2 separate regions of the Homo sapiens genome follow, and region 1 is linked to region 2. Evidence: promoter capture Hi-C in 16 types of primary human blood cells and fetal thymus (Javierre and others, 2016). All regions are on one chromosome and are shown on one strand. The core of a region is centred on a gene start or on the middle of the fragment in contact, and the rest is flanking DNA. Distances in the headings are between cores, read along the strand shown. Region 1 has its middle 87 kb from the start of C1D. Region 2 holds the start of MEIS1-AS2 (MEIS1 antisense RNA 2).

Region 1 (6,054 bases), core at 1,739-4,238, 1.5 Mb before region 2:
AATTGAGCAGAGATGTTGCAGATATTCCTGTCTGAAAAATGCTGAAAGGGTCTCTTCCACTGACTCTATTGTTACATGATATGACATATGATATTGACATATGATATGTCAATATGTATATCCCTTGGACCCCCAGTTCTAACTCCTAGGTCCATTCTGGACAAAACAATAGTAGATGTTTCTACAAATAGGAGTTGGGTGTTTCTGAAACATATGTCTTCCAAGCTCATTATTGTCTGTTATGCGCATAGAAATTTCTAGTCATTAGCAAGAAGCTTGCACATTCAATAGCATTCAATAAGAATTGGTTGGCTCATTATCCACTTTCACACCCTGCACATTGCTAATGAAAATCTCATCCTTTTTGTTCACCTGAATCCTGCTTATCTTTCAAGGCCAAGCTCATATTATCATTCACTCAGTGAATTACTCATCTTCATCAAGTCTTTATGGATCACCTATTCTGTACAAGGCATTGGGGATACAGCAGTGAACAAAATACTCAGTTACTGTCCCTCATGGAGCTTACTTTCTAGTCTAGAAAGTAGACTTCAAACAATTAGTAACACAAGTGGTAAGTGTTGTGATAAGTGATAATTTGTGATAAATGTTTTTAAAGGGCAAGTATGGTATATCAAGAGATCATTGGTCAATGTAACTTGACCTTGTGCATGCTGTGTAGGGGAAGGAAGGTTAGAGAAGGTATCTCTGAGTTCAAGGTGTTGATGCTGAGAGCTTAGGATGAGCTGGAATAAGCTAAGCAAGGTTGGGGAGGGGCCTTGTAGACAGAAGGGGCAGCTTGTCAGAAGGCTCTGGGGGTCAAAAGGAGCAAGACAACTTTGAGGAAAGTCAAGGTGGCTACTGTACAGGGCTATTCACAGAAAGGGGAGCATGGAATCTGAGTAGATATGTAAGCAGGGCAGGTGATGCAATTCTGTGATAAGAATTTCTGATTTTATCCTAATAACAAGTGTACACCATTAGAATTTCTGATTTTATCTTAATAACAAGGGTACCTTGTTGAAGATGTTTAGGCAGTGACAAAGGAATGACATGATATTAGTGTTTTAGAACTTACTCTGTGCTATTTCAGTTGTCTGTGTGGCTGATGATGCTGTGCAGACCTCGTTGGAGACATTAAGTTAGAGAGAAGACCGTGCACCCAGGAGGCACTAAGAAGGAAGATTTAGGAGACATGTGTGATGATAGAGAGGAAAGTGTCATGATTTAGGCGAATACTGTATGTCCTGTTTTGTGATATTCACTGGAAATACTGCTTCCAGGATACAGATAGTTGGGGATAGCAGTGATTTGGATCTTTCAGGACTGGGGTTTTATCAGGCAAGTGGAATAGAATGAAGGCAGCAATTGACTATGAATCTTTTCCAGGGAATAATTGATAATGGTAGACTCTAAACTCCAGGATGAGTTAAGAAAGATGTGAAAGCAGGAAGGACTGATAGAAGGTGAAAGGATCATGGATTTCCTAATTTTCTGTAGGGAAAGACTTCTTGTGAGGGTACTCGAGCTAGTAACTTGAAGGGACTGGGATGTTTGAATTAATAATGTTAGAGTGATGCAGAGATAAGGGTGTGGTTAAGGAGGCAGTGGCTCAGTTGGTGGGAGGAGCAGGTGGCTGGAGATGAGATCAAGGCCCTGGGACACTGCATAAGCGTGTGTGGGGTGTGCAATGCAAAATTACAGTGGGCACCATTCACATCAATGACAATGTTCTTTATGTTCCTGGAGCTGGGCAGTGTGGTGACCATGCCAGGGGATGGACACACATGGTGGTGGATAAGAATTTCACACAGGGGTTGAAGTCACTGGGAAAGATAGCAAGAATTGGGTGAAGAAAAATGCTGTGAGTCAGGAGATCTGTAGATGACAGCAATGAAGAGGAGAAGAGGTGGCAGGACCAGAAGCCTGGATCCTCAAAGGATCAGGGATCTTGGCCAGAGGCCAGAGCAGTAACTGCCTGGAAGCAGCACTGGGAATAACATTACCTCCTGACTGTGAGGTTTGAGAAGAATGCAACAGAGTTTCAGAGGAAATTTGTGTTCAACAGACAGCTGATTCTCAGTATAGAAAAGGAAGGAAAGAACATTTGGAGGATAGGAGAGGTGCAGGTATTTGCTGATATTGGAGTAAGAGGTCTAGAGGGAACAGTGGAAGGATTTGGAAGGGAAGTTAGGAGTAGGGGTTTGGGTCTGGGGCAAGGAAACACTACACATGGTGTGGATGGTAGGAATGCAGAGGAGAGGTCATGGAGGGTCTGTGTACTTTGGGGGTAGATCAATAGGAGTGTAGTGGACAATGCCCAGGAGGAGAGTAGCCACTGGGCCAATGAACAGAGGTCCTGGCTTACCAGGTCTGGGGTGGTCACAGTCCAGCAAGAGCGGAGCCCCTTGGAGGAGTAAGAGTCCTCTTCGGTTCTCAGCTTATGTTCCTGGGGTAGTGAAAGGGAAGCTTCTTGGCTTGGGCAGCTAGGGAGAGGTGCCAGCTAAGTCACTTCCTCTACAAAGTGTCCCCTTTTTTTTCCAATAGAGAAAAATGTCTCTCTCACCTCTCCACACCCAATTTATCAGCAATATGGCCTGTGATTCTCTTGGCATTTCCACAACCTTGTAACGGTATCTTTTTGCTAGGTATTTGTTTACTCACCAAGATTAGAAACATCTTGAGGACAGGAATGATATCTTTTGTCCTTATCAGGACCTTGCATGGCACTCAGTAGATATCTGTAGGCTGGTTACTATACTGACATCCTGTGCGTTCTAACCCCATCTACAAGCTCTATTAGTCATAAATCCTTGAGTTTCAAGTCACAGAAACCTAACTCAAACTAATGTAAGCTAAAAGGTCATGGAAAGCTATCATGGGAACCCCATCTCCCCTCCCACCCCTGACTCTACCATGTCTCATTTCTGCACTTTGATTCTGCCTTGATTCAGTTCTTTCCAGTGGCAAAGATAGCTACTGTCAGCTACGAACTTACTTTGTTTTCACATTTTCTGATTAATTCCAGATTAAAAAAAAGAGTGTCTATTTCCTGAGGGCTCCAGCTATAGTCCTTGGGGTGGCCATGATTGGTCAGGCTTGGGTTGTGGTCTCTCCTCTGAAACCATCTTTGTGGTTAGGGCTTGGGATACTCTGGGCCTTGTCGTCACACCTGTGATGGGAGAGTCAAGGCTGTGTGGTAGCCAGCCCCACTAGACCAGAGAATCAGTGTTTGCAAGAAAGCAGAGTGGATATTTGCTACAATGCTGATTTCCAGCGATAAGGAAGAGAAAAACGGCTGCTGAGACTCTGTAGTCTCAAAGGAGGTATTAACAGTATAAAGCAGGGAGTAAAGAGGAAAGAAAAAACTTTTTTTTTTTTTAGCACGCGGTGTTTGCTAAGTACTACATTCTTTACAGGTTCTACTCTCATTCGATCCTCCCAGTGATTCAGTAAGGCAGGTAGGATAGGATCATTTTAAGTTTAAAGAAGAAGAATTGAAGCTTGGATAGCCTAGGCTGTGGATCAGATTCAAATCCTGAATTATCTGACATCAAAAGCCCTATGCTTTCCTTTAATCAAGGTTTCTCAACCTCAGCACTTGGACATTTGGGGGGGCCAGATAATTCTTTGTTTGGTTATGGGGGCTGTGCTGTGCATTGCTGAATGTGTAGCGGTAACCCTGGCGTCTACCCACTAGATGCCAGCAGCAATCCCATTTGGTTGATTCAATCAAAACCATCTCCAGATATTGACAAATGTCCCTAAGGGGCAGGCTGGGGGGTGGTGGGAAAATTATCCTGCTTGGGACCAGTGGCTCTAAATCATGCAGCTGAGTGAATTCAAAGTCGTGGTGCCTAAAAATGTATTCACCGGCAGCCGGGAAATACCATGAAGGATCATGTCTTTACATGGTCATATGCTTCTGTGTGTTTTATAAAACTGCAGTGCTCATGTGAGTGAGCGCTCTAATCCAGCAGGAGACAGTAAATTGTTGGTCAGATAAAGTCCTTTTCGTTGTCCTTAGTTTACAGAGACGTTTCCTCATTTGGAGTGCCCTTCCAGAAAACAGCCTCAGAATCAGATAGAGCTTCTAATATTAAATCGAGGGAAAAGGTGGTAAATTGCAAAGTGCTTGGCTCCATGTGACACAGTCTAGGTAAAATGAAAGTGGGAGGATCTCTGCTGTAACTGCCCCCAAAAGCAATTTGGCGTGTGTACAAAGTTGTGTTTCTGAGAGCAGTGGAGATGCCCCTTCTATGTGGAGAAAAGGTTAGCGAGGCTTGGGTGAATGGAGCCCAAGAGGAACTTGGCACCAGCTCCTGCTGACTTCATTCCTCCTGCCAGTCGGAGCTGATTTGTAAGGCTGTGTTTGGTGCCAGGGACTGGGTGGGAAAGGGGAAGTAAATTCAAACAAAAGAATGCCCCTGATGTGTCTGAAAAGAGGCTTTTAGCACCATTCTTTCAGTGCTCTCAACCAGACTGAAGGTGCAAAAATTTAAAAAGCAGCCCCAACCACTTAGGAGAATGGTAGAATGTATCCAACACAGTGATATTATCACATCTATTTGTTGGACAAAGAACTTCATTGTATAACAAAATAAAACATGTTTCTCCTTCCAGTTCCTGCTTTGTGACAAATCTTCAAAAATGAGCTTACAAAGGAGCAGCCTGGAAACTTGGCAAGGGTTGTTTTTAGACAAGCTCCTTCCAAAATATCTGATTGAAAGGGTTTTCAGACTGTTTTCCTGGCCTGCTGTGCAATTTGCAAACAATTTCTTTTTTGATCAGTTGTCGGGGGAGGAATTGATAAAAGTACTTGAAACTCATTTCTCACATGTATAGACAAACCTCTTCCAAGCTCATTAATGTCCGGCATGGATAGCAAGTACATATTCTTGCGTTCATTTTGGAGTCCACCTCTGAGCCTAGTCCTGGCCATGAGGAAGGTCTAGTCCTGGCTATGAGGGCTATCACCTGCTCCTCCTCCCTTCATCTACACAGTGAACCTCATGGACACCTTCCAATGATCTGGCGAATTCTAGTGGTTAAATCCTTTGTTTTCAGGGTATCATTAGAGCCTCAGATTTCCTTAGAAATGAAATACTCTACATGATCTGAAGATGAAATTAATTCTCCCCAGTATAAATCCAGTCAAGAAATTCTTCCTAAGGATGGTTACCAGAGTCTGGGAAGGGTTGTGGGTGATGGAGGGTTGGGGAGGATGGTTAATGGGTAAAAAGAAAAAACAAAACAAAACAAAGAATGAAATAGGACCTAGTATTTGATAGCACAACAGGGTGACTGACTATAGTCAATAATAACTTAATTGTACATTTAAAACTAACTAAAAGTGTATAATTGGATGATTTGTAACACAAAGGTTAAATGCTTGAAGGGATGGATACCCCATTCTCCATGATATGATTATGATGCATTGCATGCCTGTATCAAAACATCTCATGTACTCCATAATATACCTATTAACCTAAAGGCTATTATGTACCCACAAAAATAAAACATATAGATTAATGGGGGAAAAAAAGAAAGAAATTCTTCCCAGTCAAGAAATCTAGGTTCAGTATGTAAGGCTATTTTTCATGAGTGTAAAAACTGCTTAGCTTATCTCAAAAAGTTATATATTGTATGATTCTGTGTATATAACGTCTCAAAATGACAAAAAGATAGAAATGGGGACCAGATCAGTGGTTGCCAGGGATTAGGTAAGGGAGCCAGAATGCGACTCTAAAAAGGGTAGCAAGCTGAGCCTGTGGTGTGCACCTGTCGTTCAAGCTACTTGAGAGGCTGAGGCAGGAGGACTGTTTGAGCCCAGGAGTTTGAAACTAACGTGGGCGATCAAGAGAGACCCATTTCAAAAAACGAAAAATAGAGTAGCGCAAGGGAATTCCTTTGTGATGACAGAAGGGTTCTACATTTTGATTGTGGTGGTGGTAACACAAGTTTACCCATGGGTGAAAATGTCACAGGATTACATGCCCTCACCCCCCAAAAAGGAGTCCCTGCACAATGAAATCCGAGTAAGGTCTAATTGTC
Region 2 (5,453 bases), core at 2,468-4,967:
ACTCCTTTGGACCAATCCAGAGATACAGCCACAGGAGAGAGAGAGGCACCCTGGGAGCAAACGGTGGTGTTGGGGTGACAGAGAGAGAGAAATCCCCACAGCAATTCCAAATAAAAGTCGTCCCCACTTAGTAACGCATCGGAAGAAGGGCCTGGAGGGAAGACAGGAGAGGAGAGGGTGCAGCAAGCCAAGGCCCTCAGTTGAGAGCAAAGGCGGTGCGAGGTCCCCCACACTCCTTACCCAGGGAGCCGCCGGGGTGCCCCTGATGCTGATATGTCCACAAGCTGCCAACCCAGAGGGCCCAGAGCACATACCAGCTGGAGGATGAGTGGAAAGAAGGAGGAGAAAAGTCCATATTTATCTGTTTTTATAACCTCGGCCTGGTCTTATTTTTTCTATTAAGTACAATAAAATGGGTGAGCTTGCAGTGAACACCACACAAAGCAATGTTCAGTGAGGTCTAGAAGCGTTCGGCCGAGGAAAACTGACAAGACAGGCTAATGAACCGTACAGACAGGGAGAAAATAGCCAGCATTTGCTAGATTTCAAACTCTCGCTGTCTTTCTTAGACCACCTATCTTGGATTTATTCCTAATAAAATAAGAAATAAGCAGACCCTACACTTGTCTTTTCTTGAAGATAGAAGGGGGAAAAATGCTCCGGAACAAAGCCCCTACAATCAGAGGCGGTCACTGGCAGTTAACACTCCCATTATTATAGAGGGTAAATAAAATAAAGACAAAAATTAAAAGCGACAAGAAACAGGTCAAGTTTGCTAGCAAAGCTTTTACAAGCTCATCTCTTCAGGTCGAATCCCAGAGCCAGCCTTAATGAAGCAATAATAGCCACATTATTCAAAAATTTTCATTTCGATGGAAATGTATCTAAAAGGGACTTAATCATATGCAAATAATAAAAGGAGGTGGTAGTGACCCAGCAAGCAATATGCATACAGATTTTTTTTTTTCCCAGGGATGTTGAAATTGAAAAGCGCATACCTGGTCAGTTAGATTTGCTGATCTTGTTATATCTTCACTGTCTGATTTTGATCCTCCTTCTCTATCGTCTATCACCAAATCGATAGGCATTTTCCCTTTCAAACAGCTAATATACCGGTGGCAGAAATTGTCACATAATTCGTGTACCTACATTATGACAGAAATAAAAAAATGGGAATATAATCAGGAGTGCATAAATGACATTGACAAGTGCAATCCACCCCCCTTGTGAGATCCAAACTTCCAAATAGGGGAAACACAGGGCAATTGTCCTCCAGAGACCCCCAGACGCATCCAGAATTAGGAATAACTTTCTTTTCTTGCAAAATAGAGATATCCCAGAAAATTGACAGTGACAAGATGATTCACAGGCTACAACATATTCAACACCCGTGTTAAATTCATCTGCTCCTGGGGCTGTGGTCATTAGAGAGGTGACCTGCGTAGGTGACATTTAAGGTAAACTATTTAATTTCATCCAGTGACTTTATCATAAATCCCTTTCTAATGTGTCTAAGAAAAAAATGTATACGTGTGTATATATGCACATATATATTCTCCAAAGAACCTGTACTGTGGTGGCATAGGATAAATGCCTGACAACCCAAGTCCTTATTATATTTGTAATGAAGGTTTTTATCTCTAAGGGGTATATTTTAGAAAACTTTCTTTGAAAAAAAAATGGAAGGAAATCAAGTTGCCAGTACTCCTGATATGGGAAAACATACAGCCACACAAAAACATATCAAATTGATTTTTTTTTTTTTTTTTTTTTTTTACAAAAAGGAGAAGGAATGCCTCAAAATATTTAAGTGTAAGTGCAGAGGTTTCCTAGAGGTCCCAGGCATCACTGACATGCAAAAATTCACAAGAAACCCCAGTGTGCTTGCAATTTAATGTTAGTTTGAATTACAATGCATTAAGTTTTTATTGCTGAGATTTATAGAACAGCTAGCAAAATCATGTTATCCCACACCCTTTCTTGAGTGTGAAGGTGGAGTGTGTGCAGGATTCACAGATTCAAGAAATTGACACAACTATCAACTCTGCTTTGTCTCTGCAAAACGTTTAATGTGCCTCCCCACCACCTCCTCCAGACTCCTTCCCGCTCCTCCTCCTTCTCCCCTTCTGCCTCTCCCCTGTGTCTGATCTGCCCTTGCTCTCAAGACTGTCTTCCAGAAACTCACTACAACTGAATAAAACTTTTTTCTCCCTCAGAGGTAGCAAAGAAGAGAAGGAAGAGGATGAGAAGAGACAACAGAGGTATGAACTTGTGAAACAACCTCAGAGCAGCATTCGAAACATCAGCTGGGATGCACAGAATTGCAACTATTTACACAAAGCCAGCAAGTTATTAAGAATGAACACAAGGCTAGGGCGTTTGTGATCCCAGTTTTAGTGGCTGAAATTGTAATTAAACTGCGAAGAGAAATGGACGCTAAGATTGGCCTTGACACTAATTACCAGAAAGAAAGACATTTATGCAAATGTATCAGAAGGCTGAACTTCAGCCATTCGGAACCCTCCCCCCTGTGTGTTTGGGGGTAAGGGGTAAGTAAAAGGAAAAGAGGCTAGAGAAATTACCTTCTCTAATTCCAATAGATGAAACCTTAATACTTGTATGGCTTGAATCATCTGCAAAGATACAAAAACAATAAGCACCCCATTCCTGGCTTGCAGAAAACTGGCTGCCACAGCTCTACCATCTCCAGCCCACCCCCTCCCACCAGTAAATAGAGTTATTTTGATTTATGGCAATAACACTAAAACTTAATAGCAGCAACTGGGTACCATCTAGAGGTTTATATTTCTTAAGAAAAAAAAAACTAGCTAAAACAACAACACAGCATCTAAGTGAGGATCATAAACACTCTCCTCCCCCATGGCTCTCCCCTTTCTCAGTCCCACTGGCCCCACCCCACCCCAAAAGGGCCACAACACTGGACTACATGTGTCCTTGGAAGGAGTGGACAGAAAAATATTCCAAATGGCCCTCAAACTGTGGCTTTTCCCATTGCAAAGTTTCTGCTGCCTTCCTTACACCTTTCAGGCAAACTGGTTGTTTGGGGGCTCTTGTCCGGTGGCTGCCCTCGTGATGGGACTTAGAGGGCTAGGAAGTCCGCAAAGTTTAAGCACACATGCTGACAGGCCGGGAGATAAATCCCCGCGCTGATTAGAGCTGCGCAGCCCGGCTGTCATAAAAAACAAAAGCTCGCGTTTCCCCGCGCTGGCTCGCCCGGCCCCTCTCGAGATGAATTTATTTCCCCGGGATCTTGTCCCGGACCAGTTGTCCGTGTACAGAAACATTTGCAGCCAACCTGCAGGCACGGGAAGACCGGTCTAGAAATCTCAGGGCTCTCAAAGCAAAGCTGAGGGCGTTGGAGGTGGGAGGTAGGGGGTCGGGGGCGGGGGAGGGAAATAGGGGTCCGCTCTTACCAAGTTATCCAGTTCTGGATTAGAAGAAAATAGAGGTTTTTCTGCGCGAATCTAAATACAAGTGAGAAGGAGAGGGGAGAGGGAGGGGAGAGAAAAAAGAAAGAAAAATTTGAAATCTGGTCGCCTTCCTAGTTTCTTGCCTCATTACACTGTCGGGGGCAGGAAGTAACCCTCCGGGAGGGACCCGGTGACACCGAGTTCGTCCCGCGCAGAAACATTTCAGTGTGAATTAAATAAGCTGAAAACAAGCCCAGAGCTCAATCTTACTTCTACTAGCAACTACGGCTCTCGGGGAGGCTGCTCAGACCGCCGAGTCCACAGCAGCTACAACCGTGGTGTTCTTGATTTTATTCTGCAGAGTGAGCTCTCCACGTTTGCTTTCTGGAGGGTGAGTGGGGATGCAGATGGGTGATTTTAAGTTATCTGCAAACAGACACTCAGACAGAGAGAAAATCTGAGGTTGGAGGTAACATGCATGGCTTAAGGCCGACTACGTGCTGGCTACTTTTGAAAGTGTGCCGTGTGTGTGTGTGTGTGTGTGTGTTCGCGCGCGCGCGCGCGCGTGTGTGTTGGCGAAGGGGGGGCTCTCTTTTTGTTTCTTTTACTTTTTAACATCTATTTTGCTGACCTGTTTGGCGAACACGGCTATATCTTCATTGAATGACTCTGACGAGCAGACGTCCCCGCCCGCCACCCCCGGCTCGCGGGGGGTACAAGTAGCTAATTCACATTTCTCAAAAATCAGTGCTAAGAGAGGGAAGAGGGGGTGTCTGCAAGAAAATACAACAGTCACAAACAACATAATGGTTAGTCCCCAGTCAATGGAAAAAGGTGCCCAAGAAAAACAGCTGGAGGAGCAAGAGGAACAGACCCCCTCTCCGATTGTGTCATCTACTTTTTTCCTTTTCCTCCCCCTCCCCCAGACCCAGGTGACCGCTCACCTCCCCTTCCTCCTGGAGCCCTGAAGTCGGAGGCCCTGAGCCATGGACGGTATCTGAGGATCGGTTTAGCGTATCTGGCCGGAGAAATTGGCAACATTTGCTACGAATAAAACCCAAGCGTTTCCAGCAGCCATTTTGAATTAAGTTTCCCACCCGACAAGCCCTCGTCCCCTCCACTGCACATCCAGGATCCGGTGGAGGAGAAAGGCGCCGGGCGGAGAGTTGGGGAGGGCTGGTTCCTGCGGGTTCCTCCTAGGCGGCCGCGCGAAGCCCAGGCTCGGGGGATCTCGGTGGCAGGCGCTCAGCTAACTTGGGGAAAGGACGTCCATGGCCGTGGGGCCGACTGTCAACGGGCTGCACCTAGGGATCCCAACCCCAAGGCCCTCGGAGAGCCGGGAGGCTCCTCCTCAGCTCCACGCACATTCCCCTCCCTTCGCTGATAGCCCCCACCGCCCCCCAAAGAAAGTTCCTTCAAATGTTCCTGCAGTAGAGCCTTTCATTTTGTCTCTGCGAAGTGGCAAAGCAGCTAGTATTGCGAGGGGCCTAGATGTCGCTTGTCTCAGCCCATAAAAAAGAAAAAAAAAAAAAAAAGAAGAAGAAGAAGAAAGAAAGAAAAGCTTCTTCTAATGCCCAAGGAGGTATCTCAAGTCTTTTATTAGCTCTCACAGCTCAGCTGGGAATTTAACAGTTTGGGGTCCTTTACAAAGCTTCCCCAAATGTTCTGTCCCAGAGCCTAAACCACTTGTAGTTAACTCTGCGGACAGAACGGTGGGAATTAAACAAGCCCATCGCACAAGGGATCAGAAAATAAAATAAAAAGATTATATATATTTTTTTTTCCAGCGAGGGAGGGTCAGTGTGTCCTGATTTTTTAAAAATAAATAAATAGAAATAAAAGTTTCTGCAAAGTAAAAAGAGGTTCCCAAATTCATCGGCACACAGTAGGCACAAGTGAGTTTCAAAGGATTCTACTAGCCCAGGGTCTAATCGAATGGCGGAGGAGAAAGCAGTATAAACCGCAGCCAGAAAACAACCTCCGAGGAAGAGCACCCCGAATTTACTTATTTCTAAATCCTGC

The links. The method cuts DNA at HindIII sites, captures the fragments that hold promoters and counts their contacts. A CHiCAGO score of 5 or more calls a contact.
Region 1: a contact is called between a fragment that was not itself captured here and the fragment with the promoter of MEIS1-AS2 in region 2, in 1 of 17 cell types (M0 macrophages). The highest score is 7.2, in M0 macrophages.

The regions. Positions count from the first base shown.
Region 1 is chr2:67,973,351-67,979,404 of GRCh38, reverse strand. No RefSeq gene overlaps it. Among named protein-coding and RNA genes, the nearest start is that of C1D, 87 kb to the left of the region's middle. The HindIII fragment of the contact is 1,034 bases long and covers 2,472-3,505 here.
Region 2 is chr2:66,438,594-66,444,046 of GRCh38, reverse strand. It overlaps MEIS1-AS2 (MEIS1 antisense RNA 2), which reads left to right and starts at 3,717. Exons shown (of 2, transcript NR_046625.1): 1 at 3,717-3,822; 2 at 4,358-4,960. MEIS1 (Meis homeobox 1) reads right to left here. Exons shown (of 13, transcript NM_002398.3): 3 at 4,063-4,204; 4 at 3,435-3,485; 5 at 2,583-2,633; 6 at 999-1,145. RefSeq lists a silencer at 96-390 and enhancers at 1-1,607, 3,407-4,606. The HindIII fragment of the contact is 4,208 bases long and covers 787-4,994 here.